2 separate regions of the Homo sapiens genome follow, and region 2 is linked to region 1. Evidence: promoter capture Hi-C in human tissues and cell types (Jung and others, 2019). All regions are on one chromosome and are shown on one strand. Each heading gives the region's core, a stretch centred on a gene start or on the middle of the fragment in contact. The rest is flanking DNA. Distances are from core to core; before and after follow the strand shown.

What was found. Contacts are between HindIII fragments. The study calls those that stand out against the background at their distance.
Region 2: a contact is called between a fragment that was not itself captured here and the fragment with the promoter of PARP15 in region 1, in 1 of the 25 tissues and cell types used here (bladder).

What each region holds. Positions count from the first base shown.
Region 1 is chr3:122,575,842-122,581,525 of GRCh38, reverse strand. PARP15 (poly(ADP-ribose) polymerase family member 15) reads right to left here and starts at 3,876. Exons shown (of 12, transcript NM_001113523.3): 1 at 3,673-3,876. The coding sequence starts at 3,858. RefSeq lists a silencer at 3,520-3,569 and enhancers at 3,630-3,909, 5,444-5,493. The HindIII fragment of the contact is 9,405 bases long and covers 1-5,684 here.
Region 2 is chr3:122,405,894-122,412,089 of GRCh38, reverse strand. FAM162A (family with sequence similarity 162 member A) reads right to left here. Exons shown (of 5, transcript NM_014367.4): 4 at 4,701-4,809; 5 at 1-2,351. The coding sequence ends at 2,259. It overlaps WDR5B (WD repeat domain 5B), which reads left to right. Exons shown (of 1, transcript NM_019069.4): 1 at 1-244. Among named protein-coding and RNA genes, the nearest start is that of WDR5B, 7.1 kb to the left of the region's middle. RefSeq lists an enhancer at 5,581-5,630. The HindIII fragment of the contact is 5,283 bases long and covers 1-4,660 here.

The DNA.
Region 1 (5,684 bases), core at 2,627-5,126:
AAGAATATAAAAAGATGCTCAACACTGCTAATCATTAGGGAAATAAAAATCAAAAGCATGGTGGAATATCACCTCATACCCATTAGGATGGGTGCTGTGAAAGAAAAGGAAAGGAAAGGAAGATGGGAAGGAAGGAAGAAAGAAAATAAATAACAAGTATTGTCAAGGATGTGAAGAAATTGGAATCCTTGTGTACTGTTGGTGGGAATGCAAAAATGATTTGGTTGCTATGGAAAACAGCATGGCAGTCCCAAAAAAATTAAAAATAGGATTACCATATGATCCAGCAATCCCAGTTCTGGATATAAATACAAAAGAATTGAAAACAGGATCTTGAAGAGATACAGTAATCTGTCACTTAATGATGGGGATACAGTCTGATAAATGTGTTATTAGGCAATTCTGTCATTGTGTGAACACCATAGAGTGTACTTACACAAACCTAGATGGTATAGCCTACTATACACTTAGGCTATATGGTATAGTCTATTGCTCCTAGGCTACAAATCTATACAGCATGTTAACATACTGAATACTACAGGCAATGGTAACACAATGGGATTTGTGTATTAAACATATCTAAATATAGAAAAGGTACAGTAAAAACACAGTATTATAATCTTCCAGGACCAGCATGGTTTACATGGTCGGTCACTGACTGAACTTCATTATGCAGAGCATGACTGTATTTGTACAGTCATTATTATTAGCCCAAGTTCATTATTATTAGTCACAATAGCCAAAAGGTGGAAGCAACCCAAATCCATCAGTTGGTGAATGTATAAACAAAATATGTTTATATATACGTATAAAATATTATTCAGCCTTAAAAAGGAAGGAAATTCTGACACATGCTATCACATGGATGAACCCGGAAGACATTATGCTAAGTGAAATGTCAGTCCCAAAAAGACAAACACATACTGTTTCAGTTTTGCAAGATGAAAAAGTTCTGAAGATTGCCTATGCAACAATGTAAACACACCTAACACTACTGAACTGTATACTTAAAAATGGTTAAGACGGTAAATCTGATGTTATATGCATTTTATCATTATTTTTAAAAATAAAAGAAAAAGAAACTTGGTAGATTTCAGTGCAAATATTATCAAGGGTAAAAATGTCATTTCATAATGACAAATGAACCAATTCATCAAGAGGAAATAATCCTAAACATTTTATTCCTAATAACAGAGCTTCAAAATATATGAAGCAAAATTGAGAGAACTCCGAGGAGAAAATAAACAAATCCACAATTATAGTTGGAGATTTCATCATCCTCTCTAAATAATTGATAGAACAAGTAGACATAAAATCAGTAAGGACATGAGGACTTGAACAACAACCAACTCCACCTAATTGACATTTATAGAACACTCTATCCAATGAGAGAATGTACTTTGTTTTCAAGTGTGCTTGGAAATTTACCAAGATAGATCATATTGTGTCCATAAGACAAATGTCTCTGTGTGTGTGTGTGCGCGCGTGCATATATATATATATATATATATATATATATATATATACATATAGTTGCTGTTGTTGTTCAGACAGAGTCTTGCTCTGTCACCCAGGCTGGAGTGCAGTGGCGCAATCTCAGCTCACTGCAACCTCTGCCTCCCAGGTTCCAGCAATTCTCCTACCTCAGCCTCTTGAGTAGCTGGGACTACAGGTGTGTGCCACCATGCCTGGCTAATTTTTGTATTTTTAGTAGAGACGAGGTTTCACCATGTTCGCCAGGCTGATCTTGAACTCCTGACCTCAAGTGATCCACCTACCTTGGCCTCCCAAAGTGCTGGGATTACAGGCGTGAGCCACCGCGACCGGCCCTCAATACATAGATTTTAAAGAATTCAAATAATGAAAAATATGTTTTCTGACCACAATGAAATTTAACTATTAATAGAAAGCAGTAGCAAATTAGTGATACCTAAGGCTCCAAAGACTCTCTGCTGAATGATTTCATGTACATGACGTTCTGGAACTACAGGGACCAAAAGATGACCCTAGTGGTTGCCAGGAGCTCATCTTGAGTGAAGAGGTTGAAGACAAAGAAACTGGTAGAAAACTCTTTTATATCTTCATTATACTGGTAAACATTTGTCAAAACTCACAGAAGTATACACTAAAAAGTATGAATTTTCTAAATATAGAAAAGCTGTCTGTAAATTACACCTTAATTTTTAAAATGAAAGAAAACATCAAAGCATACATACACGTAAATAGACAACATAGCGAATGAGTAAACCTCATATATAATATTGAGAAAAAAGAAAAATTGAAATGTTTTATGTGAAGATAACTATAAACCTTCTTTAAAGACACAAAAATAGACTTAAACAATGAAAAGGCATCCTTTGTTTCGCTTCCTTTTCTATGTGCTTCAAAACATTCCTTCATAATGGAGATTTCATTGGTTGTGTCGAGGATCAGTACACAGATATTTCAATTTGTACACTATTCTTAACATACACACACAAAAAAGTTTAAAAAGTCATGTATTGTAATTGTTTTTAAAAGTTATTCTAGTGACTTTCCAGCTTAAAATTTGGAGGCAAATTTTCCTTAAGAGGATATGAAGTACCAGTATCTACAATTGTTGAAAAGCTGTTACATATGTCCCACCAATTCACAATTTAATATCATATACATTACATACTCAAATTTTCAATCTTTCACAGCACAGTAGGTTAGACCATGTCAACACCACCTAAAGATATCAGCTCTCTGTAATTTATTAATTTAATGCAATCCCAATAAAAATTCCAAAGAGCTTTTCTTTTTTTTTTTTAAACTGATCATACATCAGAAAAGTTCATAAGGAAAAATAAACAACAAGAATAGCTAGGAAAATAGTGACAAGGAAGCACTCTCTAGGAAGACTAGCCCTGACATTAAAACATACAGCAAAGCCTCTCTAAAGCAGATGAATAAACGGGTCAATGGATGAAAATAGAAGGTCCAGAAATACCCGAACCACATATGAAAGTCTAGTACATGATAAAGCTGGTATCTCAAGTTACTGGGACAGTGACGACCTTTATAATAAATGGTGTTGGGACACTTGATACCCATTTGAAAAAAAATAATTAGATTCACTCCTCAAACCACACACAATAACACACTCCAAATGTATTATAGATCTAAATGTAAAAAATACATCAGTTCAAGTACTAGAAGCAAGCATGAGTGAACTCTTCTATAACTTGGGTGTAGGGAAGAGTATGACTAAAAGTCATATATTAAAATATGACTAAAAGTCTAGACGTCATAAAATAAAAGACTGGTAAGTCTTGCCACACAAAATTTAAAATATTTGCATGGCAAAGAGAAACAAAAGCCCCCCATAAGCAAACTCAAAAAACAAAAAATAAATTGGGAGGACATATTCATAACACATATCACGAATAAAGGACTCATATCCTTTCAAACTTTATAAAGAACTTTTAAATTTTAAGGGAAAAAAAAAAAAAACCACCAGAAATGCTAAGGAAAAAGAAGCAGCACGCATCCCCCTCTTCCGGAACAGGGAAGTCAGTGTAGTCGGCGCCCCCTAGAAGAGAGGGTTGTGCGTGGCGTGGGGTCTCTGCGCCCGCTCGGGCTGCTGGGTCTTGCGGGCCCCAGGCTCAGCCCTGCTGTCCCCTTCCCGCACCCGTCCCCCGCGCTCCTCACCATACTCCGGGAGGAAGAGCGCCGGGAGGCCTTCCGCGCCCCACGGTTCCCGGCCGGCAGCACGCTCCCCGCCTCCCGATCTCGTCCGGCTCTGGAAGTAACACCTGCAACTCCGTGCATAAGTTCTCTGGGGGTCGGAGCCCCTGGACTCAGAGCAGCGGCAGGAAGGGGGCCTGGCGCAGCCATCCTCAGCTCGCTGGGACTGCAGTTGCGCCCCACCCAACAGGCTTGTGCCTCGAACTTCTTTTCTCTGAAAACCGCTTCCGTCAAAGATTGAGGCCTCGAGTTTGCGAACAGCTGCCTCAGGATTGTGTCGCCCTTTGGGACAGACGTTACTGCCAGACAAATCCTGGGTCAAAATCCTGAGGTCTGCAATTTTATTAGTTATGTAGCCTCAGTCAATAGCATCTGTACAGTGGGCACAGCCATAACTATTTCATGTTATTATAATGAAGATTAAATGAGATAAAGTCTGTAGAATGCCTGGCACATTAAAACACAGGAATCAGTATTCCTTTCCTTTTCTGTTGGGCATCCCACTCCTTTCCCCCCAATTCTCCCTACACACCCATATTTAGAAAAATACACTGGGTTCTCTCCTGTGCTCCCTAAGCCAGGGCTGGAGTCAGGTTCCCCTCTGGCCCAACAGGGCATTATTTAATTCAATCAACGCGTATTGAAGGCCTTTGATATGCCTGGCACTGTGTTAAGATTATAAAGATGAATTAGACACAGATCCCCTCTCTTTGGAGTGAGGGGTGAAGTAGGAGGTGGAGAAATAAAACATAGATTAATACTGTTACCTGGTGTATCACGAAAAGTCCTGGCAGTATACAGATGGTATACTCAAAATTAATAATTGAAGATAATTTAATAAAGAAATTATTTACACAGGTGTGGGCAAAGGGTTAAGGAAACCATTGAGAGATGGTGAAGTAGCCTCCTCCCCTTACCATCTAGGCTGAAGGGGCAAGGGAGGGGGCATCTCCTGAACTTGGTAAGAGCTATACCAAGTGCCAGCAGGTAGAACCCATGACTGCTTTCGGAAGACAGCCAGGGGAGTATAAGCATCCCAAGTACTCTCTCCGTGTGCCTTCCAATCTCGTGCTGGTACCTCCCACTGCAGAACCCAATGAGTAATCAGAGAATGGAGCTGATGTGGTACTTAGAGGTCAGCCCTCAGTACCACCTCCAAGGCAGAGAGCAGGGTAAAAGGTTTTGGTATCGTATTTGCATTGAGATACATATAAAGTATTAGGATAACAGAAATCAGTGGTTCGTTGTAATTTAGAGACAAGATTGGAGAAAAGTTTCTATAGTAGTGGCATTTCAGTAAGACCTTGCATGATGAGTAGGGGACTTTCTAAGAGGAAAATCAGGTGAAGAATGAGAATGAGGTGTGTCTCTCTCTCCCTCTCTCTCTTCAGAGTTCCCTTTTTCATCATCTGTCATGCAGAGAGCAGCGATGGGGGTGGATTACACAGAACAAAGATCACATGAATGAAAGCATAGACTGTGCTTTGGAAAATCTTGTAGTCTGGTGTGACTGAACCCTAGGGACTTGGTGGTGAGGAAGGAGCACAAAGTATGCAAAGTGGCATGAGCAATCGCTAACGGCCATGCTGCTGAGTTTAAACTCTATTTTCTAGGCCAGTGGATCTCTAAATGTAATTCCCAGACCAGCAACATCAGGTTCATTGTGAAGCAGTAACCAGGGTGATAACCCCTAGCACCGCGTTACATTACATCTTACTTTGCCTCACTTCTCTTTTTGTTTGTCCTTGGGCTTGGACCTCCAAAATTATTAATATCTTAATCTTTGCATCAAGCTCTATGTTTTAGATCTGATCAATAAAAATGACCCAATCGATAAAAAAGGAAATAGCACCTAACTTCTGTATGGAAATCAAACCAAAAACAGTACTAAACATTTTTTTTTTTTTTTGAGACAGAGTCTCGCTCTGTTGCCCAGGCTGGAGTGCAGTGGCCTGATCCCAGCCTACTGCAACCTC
Region 2 (6,196 bases), core at 770-3,269, 170 kb after region 1:
GAGATATCAGAGTTACTAGTAGGGTAGGAGTGCTGTAAGGGTACTGGGAGAAGTAGGATTAGTTAGGGGCAGATCTTGAATTCTGGCCAAGAAACTGATATTTAACCCATAAAGAGATAGTCACTATATGTTATCAAATAGGAGAATAACACAAATGAGAAATGACTGTTAATTCCTGATGCATAATAACAGTTGTGAGCTTTAGTTTAATGTAATATTTGTAATAAAAACGTTTGGCCAGGCACCATGGCTCATGCCTGTAATCCCAGCACTTTGGGAGGCCGAGGGAGGCTGATCACCTGAGGTCAGGAGTTTGAGACCAGCCTGGCCAACATGGTGAAACCCCCGTCTTTATGAAAAATACAAAAATTAGCCAGGTGTGGTGGTGCACACCTATAATGCCAGTTACTGAGGAGGCTGAGGCACGAGAATTGCTTGAACCCGGGAGACGGAGGTTGCAGTGAGCTGAGATCATGCCCTGCACTCTAGCCTGGGCGACAGTGCAAGACTGTCTCAAAAAAAAAAAAAAGGTTTCATTAAATTTAAGCTCATAAATGTTACTACATTTATAATGTAAATCTCCAAGATACAACACATTTTTGTTGTATTGCTCTATGAAGAGGATTATTTTTAAAAGAAATTCCACATTAAAATTTATCCACATTTAAAACATTGGTGTAGGTGTCCCAAAATAAGAAAAACTAATCTTCTAAAATGTACAAGAAACTATGCTTTTTGAAAATAAATTTGCAAGTGATAACTTGATACCTACAAAGAAGCTAAGGCCAAATTAAAGTATATAGACAGACATCATAAACATCCTCAGATAGATTATCAAGCTATAGGTAGTATGTTACATTTTACTGGGTATTTTATTTGGGAAGAAAGTGCCCAAACAGCTGCATGTATTTTTAATCTCTCTTATAACTCTCTGAGAACCAGCATGTTGGCATGGCTGTATACAGTAGTCACCCCTTACCCTCTGGGGATATATTCCAAGACCCCCCAGTAGATGCCTGAAACTGTGGATAGTACCCAACCCTGCATATACTATGTTTTTCGTATACATACATACCTATGATACCGTTTATTTTATAAATTAGGCACAGCACAATGCACTTTGAGGCAATTATTAAATAAGAGTTACCTGAACACTAGCACTGATTCCACGACAGCTGATCTCGTAACAGAGACGGCTAGCACATACAGTGTGAATACACCAGAGAGAGGGATGATTCACATCCCAGGTGGATGGAACAGATTGGCAAGAGATTTCATCATGCTACACTGAATGGTATGTAATCTATAACTTATGCATTGTTATAGGAATTTTCCATTTAATATTTTCAGACCTCAGGTAACTGAAACCACAGAAAACAAAGCCGTGGATAAGAAGGGACTACTATAATGGCTTGTCATCCATGAATAATTAAGAAGCATGTGAGAATCAATGTTTAAAATAGAAACCTGTATTCATACCTAAATATGAGACAACTCGATATCCCAAGGTCAAACTGTAAATGAGATATATATGAGGTGCAAATACTTCTAACAGTAATAATACATGAGATTTTTATAATTGAGAAATTTAGTTTCTCAGGTGGTAAGAAAACAGCCAGTTGAGAATTCTAAGGCATGAAGCTAAGAGGTGACTTGTGTTGACCCCAAGCAACTCCATGACGCTGGGATTTCTAAGTCCTTAGAAATTCCTGGCTGGACCTTGTCAGAATGTTTAAAAAACTATTCTCCTAAAAGCCTCCATCTGCCAGCATGTTCAAAGATTATAGAATGTGGTCTGGCTGCTTCTCAGCGCTCGCTCTATTAGGGGGCAGCCTCCCCACCAGTACACCAGGACATTTGAGAAGGCTGGCCCTCCAAGCTGCACCTGGGCCATATACTCAACTGGCCTTCCTTATCTCCTCAAAATGAGTTCGCCTGTGGAGAGGTTACTTTGATAATGGGAAGAGAAGTAAGATATGGTACCTGCTTCTCTGAAGAGTTGGTATTCAAGTTGAAATAAATTGTTTCATTTTTCTCCAAAAGGCTGAGAGGCTACACTTGACTTGGATCAAAACAATAAAACACAGTCATTATTTAAGAAAATTTATTTCTACTTCTACAGCAGAAATACGGAAATGGTACAGGTTTGGGCAAATCATACTTTATGAAATGGATCCTCATACCACATCCTTTTTAATACAGGCACGTTATAACATAATTCCTGGATTTTCAAAATCCAGCCAACACGGATACCTCTGCTACTCTGTTTTGGCCTTCATAGCTGCTTCCTCTTTCAGACGAGCTTTCTTTTCTAAGTTCAAGCTTGTTAAAGTCTCGTGTCTTTGGGCAGCCTAAAGCAAAACAGATTTGAACAGGTGATTTGTATGCTGGTCAGGGGAGGGTGTCTTTACCTTGCACTGATGACAGCAGGTTAACAGAGGCATGGAGGCATGGAGTCCTCTGCTGCTTGCACACTGAGCACGGCAGTTTCCTCTATGTGCTTCAACTTCCTCGTACGCTTCCAAGAACAGCAGCTCATCCACTCAAGCATAAGTAAGAAGTGCCACACCTCTCCTTTTTCTTCCCTTCTGGCCCCTTTCTTTCAGTCTTTATCCTCTCCTTTTCTCTTATACTTTCTTCTCATTCCACCCCACTTCTCTTTTATACTAAATACCTTCTCATTGCCATTTCTATCCCGTTTTTCTTCTTTCACTTTTCTCTGTTGCTGCCATTTCTCCTTCCCCAACTTATCTGCATACTCAGATCCTTCTAGTTCCTCACTTCTCTTTTACCAAAAACATTCAGCTTTGGGAATCCCAGACTTTACCCAAATACTACCATTGATGATTTCCACGAGTATCTGTACTACAATTCCAACCTTTGAGTGGGGGAGGCAACCGTCCTCTTCCCTTGTTTCCCTCCATGTAAACGGTCAGATTTCTATGAAGCTTACATACAGGCCAGTTTCAACACTTTTATACCAAATAGTGAAACTAGCACCCTAAGCTGATATTTCCTTCTATCTGTGTAATTTCATATGTAAAAGAATTGGGTATGTGGCGGGGGGTGGGGGAGCGGGGGGAGAAAGGGAAGTTGATGGTGAGAGCAAAATATACAATGGCTAATTTTTCTCTTCCAAATCACATTGAGTTCAAAAGTTCTCCATTCCAGTAGTATTTATGGAAACAGAAATTCCATAAAACTAAAATGTTACAATTTTATGGTAAAGAACAGGAGAAGAACTCTCTAAAATACACAGCATATACCCCTGGATGATGCTAGAAGAGATTCCAGGTGAATAATTTGCTTCTGGAGTATTTAAACTCAGCTAGTACAATCGAGTATACAAAAGCAATGCAAATTTCTCAGAATCCTAGAAGCTCACAGTCCTGTCCACATGTTTCTGCTGGTTTTAATCTGAGAACTATGCATGAGAGGTCAAAGAGGGAGACAAGAAAAAATGAAGTGGGGTGGGAACAGAGTTTTCAAGAGAACTTCACCCAGCTCAGCACATTTGCCCCTTCGTACTCCCATGAGGTCAGCCTAAAATGGTCAGTATTTCCATTTAACTGCAAGAATGAAGACAGCCAAAAGTACATTTCCTTTTACTCTGGAATTACTGAGGATAAGAAAGTCAGTTAAGAGTGCGTGTATAGAAGGACCTTTTTAGTATCTTAAAGTAGTTGTAAGACATCACTTTCCACATGGAAGCTGTGATATATAGAATTATACATGGTATTAAAAGAAGAATTTGACCAAAGCTGCTGAATATAAAAATAACTATGGCTTAATAGCAAGATAGTATAGTATGAGGTTTGGTAACCTGCAAACTTGGGTCTAGATTTTTATCTTGCCACTTGTTAGCTGTGTGAGTTTGGGAAAACTATTTACCTCTTAGGGTTATGGGGGTGATTAAGTGAGCTTAACAGTGCCTGTTACATAATAAGCACTCAATAAATGGGAGGAATTTTCCTATTACCTGAATTGGGTCTAGGTTCACACTGTGGCTCGTCATTAAGGAGATATGTGGCCTTGGGCAAGTTACTAAAGCTTTCTAAGCTATAGTTTTCCTCATCTATAAATCAGGTCCTAATAATACTTATCTTACAGTGTTTTTGTGAGGTTCAGATGAGATACCAGCTAGAAAAGTACCTGGAATGCAGTGAGTGTTCAATTAGTGATAGCTATTAATTATAATCTGTGCTAAAGATTTCTGGACTTGTATTCCTATGTACTGCTTAGGAGCTGTGGTCCTTAGACACATGGCCCTGTCTGGCTGAGCTTCAAATAAAGAACCCCGCTAAGAAAGCTCACCATGCTGAAGGCAGTTATGGTGAGGGTAAATACACTTGGGTACCAAGAGCACTCTGGAAATATGCAGTGGGTGATTAAATATGCCAGTGTCCTATTTCTTAATTTACATTATGACACCTGTCATCAGAAACACTTTTTAAATTTACATTACACAAAATGAATCTAGTCCTTCTTCACCACGCCAAAGTTAGGATTTGCTATCTATCCCCAAGGATGATATTCCAGGCTTGTTCCCAATATGTCTTATTTTTTTGCTTATCTTTTCTCATGTAATGTAGAAAGTAGCCTCCTCTTCTCAGAGGGTAAATACAAGGGTCAATCCCTGATTTACTCTAGGTTCTTGGTGGAGAACATACATACTGGATAGAGAAGAAACCCCTTCTCACCTTCTTGCCCTCAATAACCATGAAGATGCATCCTACCACCGTCAGGGCAATCATTAGATAGCTGATCTTCACTCGCATCTTGTTCTTTGCAGCATCAAGCATCTCCAACCTAGTAATACAATGAGATCATGAGAGAAAGTTATTAACTTTTCCCTTTCTGAAGTTGCTCAGGATAAAAGGCTGTGTATAAATTCAAAATGTAGTAGTGTCTATAAATATAAATAGGGAGACCTAGAGATCTCTTTAAAAAGGGCCTAGAGATCTCATAGGACTTTGGGGAGGATGAGGCATTTTTCGTAACTCATTTATGTATAAAATACAGGATAGCACACAATTAAGTACAAAAGAAGAAAACAAAAAGAGAAGTCAAGAACAAAGCCAAAAAAAAAAAATGGGCAAGGCATATTAATCTACACTTGCTATGGTGGACCCCAATTTTGGCTCTCAGGTTTCCAAGCAGCCTATAAATGCTAGAAGTGAAACAGTCATTTCTCCCTGAGGTTCTTAAGAAGACATTATGTGATGTAGTCATCGTCTGAAAACATCTCGACAACAGATACTACAATAAGCTTCATATGTTTCAACACAAAGCACAATTCAGAATGATCAAACATTGGAGAAAGTTAACCAATGTGCTCCATATACCCAGCTTTTTGCTCTCTGTCTTGAACCCAGAATAGATTTGAGAATATCTAAAATAGTAGGAAGATCCTTTAAGCAATGCTCCTCAATATTTATCTTTTTAAACAAATGTTTTGCTAAAATTGAGTGACAGTGAACTTGATATTGTGGTCTTTGGCAAGTGCCAAAGTGCAGCTCTTCTAACCTATCTACTGAATACAGACCCATGTGCCTTAAAAAAAAGTTGATGGTTGGTTCATCATTCTTGTGTGAAACCTAAGAGGCTTAATATAGAAGAGTCTAAAGGCCAATCTACCTTGGTGATTTTGCAAGTAGGCAGTGAGTCATGGTTCTATTTTTAATTTACTTTATTTAAAGAGATGGGGTCTCACCATGTTGCTGACTCAAAATCTTAGACTGAAGCGATCCTCCTGCCTCAGCCTCCTGAGCAGCCGGGGCTATAGGCATGCATTGCCACACCTGGTGGTCACGATTCTGTTACCTCGGTGTCTGGCAGAACCTCAAGGCAGGGGATGTGGAGCCCTTATGGGGCCCAGGATTAACTTATGGCCTTCTCAGTAGATGTGTAAATAGGAAGTGATTATCTCTAGATGATGGGATTGAAGTGCTTTCTTTCCCCTGAGATATTTAACATATATTACTTTTAAAATTGGGGAGGGGAGTACTTTAAAAATGCTTGGAAGGAGGCAAAGAGTCTGGGATGTTGCAGGTGGAAGGAGGAAGATGATGAAGCCATGTACAATGTGATGTAGGAGCTGGGACCTGTGAGGCAGCATGTGGACGGGGTTCTCCAGGCACTTAAGCTGGGCCTGCAGGCTGGCAGGAACCCAAGACAACTGCTAAGGACTGTCAAA